Linked DNA regions of Homo sapiens: regions 1, 2, 4 and 5 are each linked to region 3. The links are contacts of gene promoters, found by promoter capture Hi-C in blood cells and fetal thymus (Javierre and others, 2016). All regions are on one chromosome and are shown on one strand. Each heading gives the region's core, a stretch centred on a gene start or on the middle of the fragment in contact. The rest is flanking DNA. Distances are from core to core; before and after follow the strand shown. Region 1 has its middle 82 kb from the start of PTGS2. Region 2 overlaps PTGS2 (prostaglandin-endoperoxide synthase 2). Region 3 holds the start of PLA2G4A (phospholipase A2 group IVA). Region 4 has its middle 100 kb from the start of LINC01036. Region 5 has its middle 19 kb from the start of PACERR.

Region 1 (2,700 bases), core at 52-2,551, 230 kb after region 3:
CAACAGAGGTAAACAATCTGAAAAAGAAATCAAGAAGTAATCCCATTTACAATAGCTATAAAAAATTTCTAGGAATCAGTCTAACCAAAGAAGTGAAAGATCTCTACAAAGAAAACCATAAAACATGGATGAAAGAAATTGAAAAGGACACTAAAAAATGTAAAGATTTTCATGCTGATGGTTTAGAACACTTAATATTGTTAATATATCCATACTTTCCAAAGTGATCTACAGATTTAATGCAAGCCCCATCAAAATGCCAATGACATTCTTCACAGAAATAGAGGAAAAAAAATCCTAAAATTTGTATGGAACCATAAAAGCTCCCAAATAGCCAAAGCAATCCTGAGTAAAAAGAACAAAGCTGTAGGCATCACACTATCCAATTTCAAACTATACTACAAAGCTATTATAACCGAATCAGCATGGTAGTGGCATAAAAGCAGACACATAGACCAATGGAACAGAATAGAGAACCCCAAAATAAACCCATGCATTTACAGACAACTCATTTTCAACAAAGGTACCAAGAACATACACCGGGGAAAGAACAGTCTCTTCAGTAAATGATGTTGGGAAAATTGGATAACCATATGCAGAAGAATGAAACTAGATCCCTACCTCTCACCTTATGTAAAAATCAAATAAAGATGTATTAAAGACTTAAATGCAAGATCTGAAACACTATGAAATTACTAGAAGAAAACATGAGAGAACTACACCTTAGGACATTGGTCTGGGCAATTTTTTTTTTTTTTGGTAAGTCATTAAAAAGCACAGACAACAAAAGCAAAATTACACAAATGGGATTATATCAAGCTGAAAAGCTTCTGCACACCAAAAGAAACAATCAGCAAAGTGAAAAAAACAACCTATAGAATGGAAGAAAATATTGGCAAACTATCTAAGATGAGATTAATAATTAGAATATATATGGAACTCAAACAACTCAATAGCAAAAAATCAAATAATTCAAATAAAAAATGTGCAAGAGATCTGAATAGACATCCCTCAAAAGAAGACATACAGATGGCCAATAGGTATACGAAAAAATTTTCAACATCACTAATCATCAGAAAGATGCAAATCAAAACTACGAGGAGGTATCATCTTACCCAGGTTAAAATGGCTTTTATCTAAAAGAAAATAGAAGATGCTGAGGAGGGTGCATAAAAGAATAGCTAAGACTCTTGCTCTGTTGCTGAGAATTATAAATTAGTACAGCCACTACGGAAAACATTATCAAGGTTCCTCACAAAAACTAAAAATAGAACTACCACGTGATCCAGTAATCCCACTGCTAGATACATACCCAAAAGAAGAAAATCAGTATATTGAAGAGATGTCTGCATTCCCAAGTTTATTGTGGCACTATTCACAATTGCCAAGATATGGCATCAACCCAAGTATCTATCGAAGAATAAATGAATAAAGAAAATGTGATATATATATGTATATGGATATTATTCAGCCGTAAAAAAGAATCCTGTTATTTGCAGCAGCATGAAAGGAACCGAAGGGCATTTTGTTAAGTGAAATAAACCAGGCATAGAAAGACAAATATTGCATATTCTCATTAATATGTAAGCTAAAAAAGTTAATCTCATGGAGGTAGAGAATAGAATGGTAGTTATCAGAGACTGTAAAGGTGAGTGGAGAGGTTTTAAAGAGAGTTTGGTTAGTGGGTGTAAAAACAGAAAGAATAATTTCTAGTGTTCAATAGCACAATAGAACTATGGTTAACAATAATTTGTTGTAGCTTGAATAAAAGCTTTGGAATATTTCTAACACAAAGAAATGACAATCTTTTGAGGCCAGGCACAGTGGCTCATGCCTGTAATCCCAGCACTTTCAGAGGCTGAGGCAGGCGGATCGCTTGAGGTTAGGAGTTCAAGACCAGCCTGGCCAACATGGCGAAACCCCATCTTTACTGAAAAAAAAAAAAAACAAAAATTAGCAGGGCCTGGTGGCCTGCACCTGTAGTCCCAACTACTTGGGAGGCTGAGGCACAAGAATCACTTGAAGCCAGAAAGTGGAGGTTGCAGTGAGTCGAGATTGTGCCAGCCTGGGCGATAAAACAAGAGAAAGAAGGAAGGAAGGAAGGAAGGAAGGAAGGAAGGAAGGAAGGAAGGAAGGAAGGAGAGGTAGGGAGAGAGAGAAAGAGAAAGAGAAAGAAAGAAAGAAAGAAAGAAAGAAAGAAAGAAAGAAAGAAAGAAAGAAAGAAAGAAAGAGAGAGAGAGAGAAAGAAAGAAAGAAAGGAAGGAAGAAAGGAAGAAAGAAAGAGAGAGAAAGAGAACGAAAAGAAAGAAAGAGAAAGAAAGAAAAGAAAGGGAAAGAAGGAAGGAGAGAGAAAGAAAGAGAAAGAAAGAAAGAAAAGAGAAAGAGAGGGACAATTGTTTGAAATAACAGATATTCCAATTATCCTGATTTGCTTTTATGCATTGTATGCATATATCAAAATATCAGATATACCCAATAAACATGTAGAACTATTATGTATCAATTAAAAAGATAGTTGGATTCTTAAATCTGCTTCTTTAATCTGTTTTAACATATTGCTTTAGTTTTAGTCCATGAAAAAAATCCAGTGTCACATAAATATGTCGTTGGAAAGATGAGGATTATTTTAGTAGCCTTTTCAGATAATTACAGATATTCTTTGATACTACACCAACACTTGAATAGTGAGTTTCTTAAAGG
Region 2 (2,700 bases), core at 201-2,700, 150 kb after region 3:
GTGTCTTTCTAAGGTTTTTAGCCTTCTCAAAGAAAAATATGCTTTATAATACTGTAAGCCTAATCTAAAAACATATTTCCAAGCTTATCAAAAAGACTTTAAGATAGCTTTTAAGTTTGCCTTCCATCTTAATCGCCAAAAATATTGACATTTAGTCCCATCCAGTTTATACAGTCTGCTCACAACTCTGTATACCTCTTCTAACCTTTACTGTTTGGTCAGTTTGTGGAGGTAGCATGGTCCAGCTGTTTATTGAATGCCCATGGGCCACAGAATTGTTCTGAACATGTAGCACCCATTAAAATAAATTTGGATTTGGATCAGCAAGAAAATAACTTTCCATGATTCTAAAGTGGGTGCCATACTCAGCCATTCCTTTCATAGGCCTCTTGGATAGTGAGCAGATGGCTACCTGAAAAATCAATATTGCCAGATTATAATGTGCAGAGTATATGTATTTTATTAAAGATGTATTTCAAGTGGCCATTAGACTATAAAGTGTAGTTGTTTAAAAATAGATTTTTTTTATTTTGGAGTTACATTCAACCTCAGGTGCCACTTTCCACATTTTACAATAAAAATAATGGTTGATTTACTTAACAAATGAGAATAAATAAAACATTTTTTTCTTTGAAAATTTCAGCCAGATCACATTTGATTGACAGTCCACCAACTTACAATGCTGACTATGGCTACAAAAGCTGGGAAGCCTTCTCTAACCTCTCCTATTATACTAGAGCCCTTCCTCCTGTGCCTGATGATTGCCCGACTCCCTTGGGTGTCAAAGGTGAGTAAGAAGAATCCATTAGAGATGTATTAACTATAAGACGGGCTGCATTGCTGCCAAAAAAAAAAATTGACCTTAGACTACCATTTATTTATTAACAAAAGCAGTTTTTACTTTTAGCATGGTTATCTATGGGTATTTTTTAAAGTATGAGTCTATATAAACTATTATGTAAAAGCAAATGAGCGTCTTGGTATAATGTCTTAATATTTTCAAATTATTTCTTTAGAAATGAAATAATTCTAATTAAAATAGATAAAATCATTCAGTAAGAAGTTGTTCCACCATATCTTAGAACTGTTGTTTATATTATGATCCTATTCACAATTGTAATTCTCATATAAATGAAGAATTCTTGGTAGATTGACAGTCACCATCTCCTTTCTTGAATACATAGATGGATTCTTACCTTAGCTTTCTCATTTTTCAGGTAAAAAGCAGCTTCCTGATTCAAATGAGATTGTGGAAAAATTGCTTCTAAGAAGAAAGTTCATCCCTGATCCCCAGGGCTCAAACATGATGTTTGCATTCTTTGCCCAGCACTTCACGCATCAGTTTTTCAAGACAGATCATAAGCGAGGGCCAGCTTTCACCAACGGGCTGGGCCATGGGGTAAGATAGAGTTAATATCTTAGAGTTAGTAAAATTATACCAAATCATAGTCAAGGGCTAACATTAAAGGAGATATACAGATAGATAGATCCAAATAACTTATCCACTTTTTTTAAAAAGAAGTCTTATCTATAAAAACCTTAAAGGAATTTTCCATTTACTTCACTGGTCTAGTAAAATTATACACACACACAGACATGCACACACATATATAAACATTCACACACATACATATGTACAGGTATTGTTATTTGTAATTTGACCCTTGTATTTTTTAGTTTAAAATGTTAGTACTGCAAAATGTTATGTCCTCAAAAACACATTGTACCATGATTATGCCGCTTTCAATATTGTAAAGTGAGGTTTTTGCCGCATTATTATTTTTTGGATTTCAATAGCATAGCTTCAAGTTATTCGTAAGAATTTTTTATAAATAATACATTTTTATACTTTTTTATAATTACCATATCATCATAGTGAAGTATATAATATATATGATATAAGCTCAATATAGTATATTAATTCCGTTAAACACAAAGACATATCAGTTTGTAGCTTTGGTGGATAAACAAATTAATTTAGCAATTCATGGCTATGAAAAATGTATATTTTATTTAAAAATTTTAAAGAAAGCTAAATGATCAAATTATTTAATGATGAATTATATGATAGACACTTTATATAAGAAAAACTTCAACAGCAACAAATTAAAATTTTTTCATCATTTTCTAGGTGGACTTAAATCATATTTACGGTGAAACTCTGGCTAGACAGCGTAAACTGCGCCTTTTCAAGGATGGAAAAATGAAATATCAGGTATGCTTCCTTTGACTATTAAGACTTAGTTATTACCGCTTATACCCATATTTTAAAATCCCTAAAAATGTGTTCCTTAACTTTTTAACTGATGTTTATTTATTTATTTATTTTTTTAGATAATTGATGGAGAGATGTATCCTCCCACAGTCAAAGATACTCAGGCAGAGATGATCTACCCTCCTCAAGTCCCTGAGCATCTACGGTTTGCTGTGGGGCAGGAGGTCTTTGGTCTGGTGCCTGGTCTGATGATGTATGCCACAATCTGGCTGCGGGAACACAACAGAGTATGCGATGTGCTTAAACAGGAGCATCCTGAATGGGGTGATGAGCAGTTGTTCCAGACAAGCAGGCTAATACTGATAGGTAAACAAGAAAATGATTTATATAAAACCCTCTTCCCCAGGGAAAATTAGTGTGCTATCTTTGTTATGTTTTGAGTAAATGACAAGATGTGGTAAATGAAAACTCACACATTCTATATA
Region 3 (2,700 bases), core at 196-2,695:
TCAAGTGATCCACCCGCCTCGGCCTCCCAAAGTGCTGGTATTACGGGCATGAGCCACTGCGCCCAGCCAGAATAACTTACTTTTTAAAAATATGTTAAAAAGATGCAATGTCTTATCTCAAAAAATATGCTTCCCCTAAGGGAAGTTTGTAAAACTCCTTTGAGCAAATGCACATTAAACACTTCTCTATGCATTTCACAATTATTGCTTAATTTAAAATTTAACTCTTCCGGAGCTAATGAAAGAAGTAAATACCTGTTTCTTATCCCAACCTCTAACTTGATTGGCAAGGTGTAGGAACCTGTAGAATGTAACTTTAAAATTCTTAACAGAGCTTGTTTCACTACAGTCCTCTACAAATATCCCTTGAGCCACAATTCTAAATTTAAACAACAAAGAGAAACAAAAATACAAATCTTCTTTGAACTCAAATTATATTGGCAAATATAACTTTAGAATTGACACCCATTCAGACAGTACGCCTCTAATACTCTCCATCTGCCTTAGCTGAATAAATGCTGACATCATCAACCCATATGAGGAGTATTTCTTGTTCTGGTTTTGGAGGTGAATTTATTTTTAAGACTAAAATGATTATAAATTGTAGGAGACAGATACATTCATCCACTGATACTTTAAAATCAAATACCTTTTTTTTCTGTTTTTTTTGGAAACAAAATTACTGAAATATCCACACTCAAAATTTAACTATGTAATTTGATCAAATCTTTTCTAGTATCTAGTTTTGAGATTTTTTTTTTCTCTTGGCAAGCCAAGTAACTTAGGGGAAGGGTGGATCATCAGAACACCAGTCCGTTTACAGTTAATTTTTCAATAATCCTCTTTCTTTCGCATAATTCTGCAAAATATTGACTAGCCAGGAAAGCGTCCCATAAGTAACAAAAATGACCAATTTTTAGAAATTAAAAGTTAAGTGAGTCAACAAAGTCTCTCGCTAAAGATCGCTAGGGCTGTCAAACAGCACAGCATGCTGCTGCTCAAGTTTGGGGATCAGTAACCATTGGGTGTCATCACGTGGAACGCTAATAAGCGCCACCTCACCGCCGTTTTGAATGCTAACTTTCTGGGATTCCAACCCAAAGAAACACCTTAATCTTTGACTCCACAGTGCATTTAGATCCAGGAAGGCAAATCTGCGTGGGTTTGAAGAAAATTGAGGTCCCTAATCTGTGTTTCACTTCAAAAGGCAGAGGACATGCTGACTTTTTAAAGCAGCGAGGTTTCCCCTCCGTCCTTTCTTCCTTCCAAGTAAACTACCAAGTAAAAGCTAAGGAGGGTGGGAGAGAGAAGTGGAGCAGAGGAAGAATAAATATATTGCTTACAGTTCCCAGAGTTACCTGAGAATCTTCAGGCTCCTCAATGCCTCTAGCTTTCAGTCAGGATCCTTTTTCAGCTCCGGACTTAGAGAAAGTCTTATCCTGAGTAGGAGGGGCTAAAATGTGGGCTGGTCTCCTTGCGCTTTTGCAGATGTTTTAAGGTGGAATTAAAGGGGAAGAGGGAGAACGCTCTCTTCTCATAGAAGCTAATATTGTAAATGTAAATGCTTAGTTATTAGAACCAGGAGTTTGAAGTCAGAAAATATGCTTAAATAATATGTAAATTAATCAGTCCTAAATTCCATGAGTGCTGTTGTGGATTTCTGTGTGTGTGATGTGTGTGTGTGTGTGTGTGTGTGTGCGTGCGCGCGTCTGAAATTGCTACTTGTCCTTAAGTAGTAACTACTTCCTCCTTTTTTCCAAAGGAGAACAAAATTGAAAAGACAGTGAATAACCTAGAGCATTTTTGCATTATTTAAAAAGGCAAAGTTTATAACAAACCCCAAATATAAAAATGTACATTTTTAAAAAATGAGTATCAGACCACTTTAAAAATCAAATCTGTTTAAATATTTCCACTCCAGACTCAGAACACCTGTGTTGATAATAATTTCTTTGTAAATTTAAGATTAAAGGCATACCAAATAATGTAATATATATGTTGAGATTTAGGGAAGAAAATGAAATCAGGTTGAATTCCAAATTTGCAGTGTAAATCCAAATACCTTATAGCACTGTAATGAAGAAGGTGCATTGTTTAAATGTACCCAAATTCCATGAGAATCAATTCATGTCTTTAAAGATTGACATGTTCATTTAGTATATCTTGTTTTTCAAACACAGGATCTTGTTTTTGCCTTTAATTAAATACTGAACTCACTCTCCTAACTCTCTTACAATATTTTCAAAGAATATAATTTCACTAAATCTTCTGGAATATCTGCTTTCTGTAGCCCAACATTCAACTCTTATTTGTTTTTATTTTTTTCCCCTAAATTCAACCTGGCATATTATAAATCTCTCTTTGAAAAAAAAAAAAGCCAGTAATGTCTTTTTTAGGAAGGATAGATTTATAATAAACATTTTTCGGGCTGGGCACGGTGGCTCACGCCTGTAATCCCAGCACTTTGGGAGGCCAAGGCGGGCGGATCACGAGGTCAGGAGATCGAGACTATCCTGGCTAACACGGTGAAACCCCCGTCTCTACTAAAAATACAAAAAATTAGCCGGGTGTGGTGGCGGGCGCCTGTAGTCCCAGCTACTTGGGAGGCTGAGGCAGGAGAATGGCGTGAACCCGGGAGGCAGAGCTTGCAGTGAGCCAAGATTGCGCCATTGCACTCCCGCCTGGGCCACAGAGCGAGAC
Region 4 (2,700 bases), core at 119-2,618, 160 kb before region 3:
AATGGTCTAGCATCATTTTATACTTGTTCTGTCCGACCTAGAATCAGCCACTTCCTTGAGGATCCTAGGTTTCTGTTGTTATATGATGGGATTTGAAAGCCAACTGCTGTGTCCAGCTGTGCTCATTGCTATTGGGAGTATCACCGCTCCCAGATCCTCTCAGTGACAGACGTACAGAATCTCTACACACACCCACTTTCATGTCTGTTTATTCTATATATCTCTACTTATACTAAAACCCGTGAATTCATACTAATACCTCCTACTTCAACTTAACACCACACAACCTTCTGTTTTTCTTCATTTTCATATTTGTAACTCCATTCCAGTGAGAAAACTGGCACTCATTATATTTATTATATTTCATATATTTAATTACTTCATTGGTTCCCCCATGTGTAAGCAAGCTGCACTGTCTGTGCCACACCTTCCTCTGCATGGATGCCCTCCCATCTCAGGTTTTGGTGTCTGACTTTGATTCCCCATTGATTCCCATGGCTTTGGGATTAAATTGTTTAAGGAGGTAAAGAGAAGGGGAAAGGAAAAAGAAAGAGGAACTACTGTTGAAACTTTTATAAAGTGTTTTCCATGTTAGAACAAAGGTATTCATGAAAAGTTTAAAATTGTATACTTCAGAAGAAATGAAATTAGATATATACATACACACACCAAGCTTTTATTTTGTTGCTTTCATTGCTTATCAAAAAACAAAAAAAACCCTGAAATTGCACAGCTTGTTCATGGATGAGGTAAAGTAGCAGCCCTGTCATGGCGTGAACAATGAACAAACTAGAACACTTGTGCTTGCGTGAAAAAGGCAAAGAGCCAAGCCGAAATTACTAGGGCACGTTGATCATTTTGGGGAAGACTAAGGGGACATCTCACTTGTCAGTCATTCTTTGGAACAAAGAAATAATAAAAAAAAAATGTACAGATTTAACTGGCCACCCAATGTGTGTTTTTATAAAATCAGAATTCTAGTAAATTCATAAATGAAAAAATGGCAAAGCTGAATTAGATGAAAAGCCTCTGTTATTGTAGTTAAGAAACTAAAAGCATGTGAACAAAGGGAAAGCAAGTGTCCTAGTTGGTCCCAGCTTTATAATGACTGTCACTGAAGTGTTCATCTAATTTGTTTCTAGAGGGCACCATAGATGGTGATATACAGGCCATAGGGTCAACAGCATAGGGACCTGGTTCAGAATTTAGTCATCTTGGACATATTTCTTAACCTCTCTGGTCTTGTTTCTTTACAGAGGTATTTGGAAGGATAAATCAAATGCAAACAATATTGCCAAAGTTTGAACAAATAAGAGAAAATTAATTGTACACCTCCCACTCTGCCTTAGGCACGTTGGTCCCTTCTCTGTTTCCGGAATATGCTTGGTGCTCTACCTCAGGGAACTTTGATTTGTTATTTCCTCTGCCCGCAGTGCTTCTCCGTTGGATAGCCTCAGGTCTTGCTCCCTCAGCTCTTCACCTCTTTGCTGCGATGTCACCTTCATATTATGGCCTTCTCTAGGACCCCCTGTAAAATTACACACCTCTAACACATCCCATCTCCTCTTTTTCCTGCTTTTTCTTCTTAGCACTTATCACTCTCTAACATTCAACATATGTCTGTGTCATGTTTATCATCTTTGGTCATCTCCACCAGAATGCAAGGTCCTTAGGCAGGCACTTCGGTCCGTTTTTTCTACTTTTGTGCCCCTAGATCCTGGGATCCTGCAACATGCTTGACAGCATGCAGTAGGCACTCATTTGCCATAGGCATAAATCAATGAACAATAGAATGAACGTTCAAGGCTTCCTTTTATTGTTTTTTGTCTTTCCTCATAGGCAGAAAAGTGAAAGGTGAGAGGATAAAAAGAAAAATGAATAAAGAGCTTAAAGAAAGATAATTCAAGGAAAGAAGAATGGCAGACAGTTAAGAAGAGGAAGACCTGAGCTTTGGAACATTCTGAACCATAACAGTTCAGCTGCAACTGCAGCCACAGTTGTGTCATACAGTGTTCCCAAGACAAATCTTGCAGATGCAAGAGGTAGGCCACTTATTAAGCTTGATTCAGCCCTTACCACTTTTTTGGATTATTCTCTGAGGTCAACTACACTGGTTGTTGGATAAGCAGTCCAGGATAATATTAGCCAAGGGAAATGTTACATTAGAAGTGGTTACACATATATTTTCTACTTAATGAATAAACATATACCATTTTCTGAAAAAATTATATATTCATCTTTCAGAAAAAAAACCTATGATTTAAAATTAAAAGTTTCAGCCAGGCGCGGTGGCTCACACCTGTAATCCCAGCGCTTTGGGAGGCTGGGGCGGGCAGATCAAGAGGTCAGGAGTTTGAGACCAGCCTGGCCAACATAGTGAAACCCCGTCTGTACTAAAAATCTAAAAATTGGCTGGGTGTGGTGGCGGGCACCTGTAGTCCCAGCTACTCGGGAGGCTGAGGCAGGGGAATCGCTTGAACCTGGGAGGCGGAGCTTGTGGTGAGCCAAGATCACACCACTGCACTCCAGCCTAGGTGACAGAGTGAGACTCTGTCTCACAAAAAAATTAATTAATTAATTAAATTAAATTAAAAGTTTCACACTTGAGTTTAGGATGAACAACTTTTGCGTTTGAAAGCAGTGAATATGAGAATCTTTCATAGCAATAGTCCAATATCTCATTAAAAATTAACAAAAAAC
Region 5 (2,700 bases), core at 182-2,681, 130 kb after region 3:
ATAATTGCTAGTCCTGTAATGAAAATATATGACTAAGTGAAGGTAGTTCCAAGAATACAGAAGAATAAAAACCAAACATAATCGGTCATTTCTTGAACATCTATTGAGTAATAACTAGAAGCCATGGATTTACAGCTACCCCAGTGGCAGGTTGACTTATAAAATCAGGTCTTCATTGCTTGATTGATGTTCTGCTTCAAAGCCACACTTTGTATTTTGACTCAGACATAAGCTTCTATCCATAGAATATGCTTAGTAAATACGTTGAGAAAATAGAGAATGAAAATATAAACAAGAATCACAAAGAATGATGATTGCATACAATGAAAAAATATAGATTAGATATAAGATTTAGCTTAATATATAAGGATTACTTAAGGTTAAATTTTGAAAGTGAGCAATAGTCTAGTAAATTTTAAATGTACCCATTACATCATTTTTACCATTTTTGTTTTGTTTTTCCAAGATTTTTTTTTACATGAAAAAAATTGACAAGAAACTTAAAAGAGGGAGCGTGCATCTTTAAATAAAATTTTCGCCATTTGCTTCTAAAATAAATCACATGCAGCACTTATAAGTGAAAACAGCTGATTTACAGAGTAAGGTTTTACTTAAATGTCAAATGAAAAACCTAAATTTAAAAGCAGTATTTGCAGCTCTTCAAACAGTACCAGAATGGAATCAAGTAGAACCACAAAAAGAAGACATGTTCTGGACACTGAATGTTCTATAGGCCCTGTGTTCATCTCTGTAGAAGAGAAAATTTTGTGTGATAGCCAACAGCCCAAGGGTTGATTTGAAAACAGCTCAAAGTATAAAATTTGAAATATAAAATTTAAAATTTAAAATGGAAAAGTGGAAATGAAAAGACATTTTAAATCTCAAGAGCAGAGCACAATAATGACCACATTGCATTTGAAGTAATGGGTTTCAGGAAGCCTGAATGTATTAGGTTTAGATCTCTTCTGATAACTCAAAGGAGTCCATATATTTTATTTATCTTCATGACAAACATGAGTAGATGAAGAAACTGAGGGATAATAAATGTATGTATTTGCCCAAGGTCATGTGGTCAGTGCTTCAAATTACGTGTTTCTTTCATTGAACTATGTTGGAAATAATGATAGGGTCTTTGATATAAAGAGATTTACATTCTTTTTATATCAAAAAGATATTTAAAAATCTTTGATAAAAAGAGAGTTACTCTTTGATTAAATCTTTGCTATAAAGAGAACTCAAATCTCTTTATATCAAATTACATAAAATCAAGTTAGGCAATGTAAGTAGGAAGTACCTGATAACAAGATGAAAGGAAGAAAAGAATTTCATTTTATCTATGGAGAAAATGACTCATTTTTAGTATCTAACAGAACACAATCTATTATCTCTTTTTGTTTGTTTTTTGTAGAGACAGGGTCTCACTCTATCACTTAGGCTGATCATAGCTCATTGGAACTCTTGGGCTCAGATGATCTTCTGTTTTATTTTATTTTTTTCTTTTTTTTTGAGACGGAGTCCTGCTCTGTCGCCCAGGCTGGCATGCAGTAGCACCATCTTGGCTCACCACAACCTTCACCTCCCGGGTTCAAGCAATTCTCCTGCCTCGGCCTCCCAAGTAGCTGGGATTACAGGCATGTGCCACCACGCCTGGCTAATTTTGTATTTTTAGTAGAGATAGGGTTTCTCCATGTTGGTCAGGCTGGTCTCGAACTCCTGACCTCAGGTGATCTGCCCGCCTCGGCCTCCCAAAGTGCTGGGATTACAAGCGTAAGCCACCGCGCCCGGCCGGGCCCAGGTGATTTTCTTACCTCAGCCTCCTGAGTATCTGGGACTATAGGTGCATGCCACCATCATATTTTTTATGGTATTTCATTTGTAAATAAATTTTTATTAAAATATTTATTTTATATTATAAAAATAACAAGCATTTATTTGGAAAATATAGAAATACAAATAAGCAAAAGATGAAAATAAAATTGGCCTTTAGCCCCACCAATTACAGATAGCTGGTCCTAAAAAACATATTAAGAACCTGCTAACTGCCAAATACCACTGTGTCAGACTTCATCTCCCAGCATCCCCTTGATTCCCTTTCCACCAGGCATACTGGCCTTCTTGCTGTTTCTTGAACATTTCTAACAGCGACCATTTTCCCTCCATTACATTTATGTACTTAAAGTTGTAAAAAGATGAACAGTTCCTGGCATACAGTTATAATGCAATACATGCACACTATATATAGCATTTATTTTACTATTACATTACTAATTTGTAAGACTTAATGTTCACTTGATTTTATTTGTATTTCCTTGCTTCTTAGTGCAATCTATTTTTTCATAAGAGTACTAAGCAAGTTTTTATTGAATTAGTTGATCATGGCTTTTTCCTGTTTATTTATGTGCTTGTCATTTTCATGTGTGTGTTTTTTTCAACTTTTGTTTTAGGTTTGGGGGTATATGTGAAGGTTTCTTACATATGTAACGTGTGTCATAGGGGTTTGTTGTACATATTATTTCATCATGCAGGTATTAAGCCCAGTACCCATTCGTGATCTTTTCTGCTTCTCTCCCTCTTCCCACCTCAAGCAGGCCCCAGTGTCTGTTGTTTCCTTCTTTGTGTTCATAAGCTTTTATCATTTAGCTCACACTTTTAAGTGAGTACATGTGGTATTTGGTTTTATGTTCCTGCATTAGTTTGCCA

The links. The method cuts DNA at HindIII sites, captures the fragments that hold promoters and counts their contacts. A CHiCAGO score of 5 or more calls a contact.
Region 1: a fragment that was not itself captured here is called in contact with the fragment with the promoter of PLA2G4A in region 3 in 3 of 17 cell types (monocytes, neutrophils and megakaryocytes); the score reaches 11.7 in monocytes.
Region 2: a fragment that was not itself captured here is called in contact with the fragment with the promoter of PLA2G4A in region 3 in 3 of 17 cell types (neutrophils, megakaryocytes and monocytes); the score reaches 7.5 in neutrophils.
Region 4: a contact is called between a fragment that was not itself captured here and the fragment with the promoter of PLA2G4A in region 3, in 1 of 17 cell types (M2 macrophages). The highest score is 5.2, in M2 macrophages.
Region 5: a contact is called between a fragment that was not itself captured here and the fragment with the promoter of PLA2G4A in region 3, in 2 of 17 cell types (neutrophils and monocytes). The highest score is 6.6, in neutrophils.

What each region holds. Positions count from the first base shown.
Region 1 is chr1:186,596,894-186,599,593 of GRCh38, reverse strand. No RefSeq gene overlaps it. Among named protein-coding and RNA genes, the nearest start is that of PTGS2, 82 kb to the left of the region's middle. The HindIII fragment of the contact is 944 bases long and covers 830-1,773 here.
Region 2 is chr1:186,676,348-186,679,047 of GRCh38, reverse strand. PTGS2 (prostaglandin-endoperoxide synthase 2) reads left to right here. Exons shown (of 10, transcript NM_000963.4): 4 at 644-787; 5 at 1,218-1,399; 6 at 2,132-2,215; 7 at 2,335-2,581. Among named protein-coding and RNA genes, the nearest start is that of PTGS2, 2.7 kb to the left of the region's middle. RefSeq lists an enhancer at 275-1,474. The HindIII fragment of the contact is 2,730 bases long and covers 86-2,700 here.
Region 3 is chr1:186,827,694-186,830,393 of GRCh38, reverse strand. It overlaps PLA2G4A (phospholipase A2 group IVA), which reads right to left and starts at 1,445. Exons shown (of 18, transcript NM_024420.3): 1 at 1,359-1,445. The HindIII fragment of the contact is 13,801 bases long and covers 1-2,700 here.
Region 4 is chr1:186,988,997-186,991,696 of GRCh38, reverse strand. No RefSeq gene overlaps it. Among named protein-coding and RNA genes, the nearest start is that of LINC01036, 100 kb to the left of the region's middle. The HindIII fragment of the contact is 1,386 bases long and covers 676-2,061 here.
Region 5 is chr1:186,698,353-186,701,052 of GRCh38, reverse strand. No RefSeq gene overlaps it. Among named protein-coding and RNA genes, the nearest start is that of PACERR, 19 kb to the right of the region's middle. The HindIII fragment of the contact is 2,394 bases long and covers 235-2,628 here.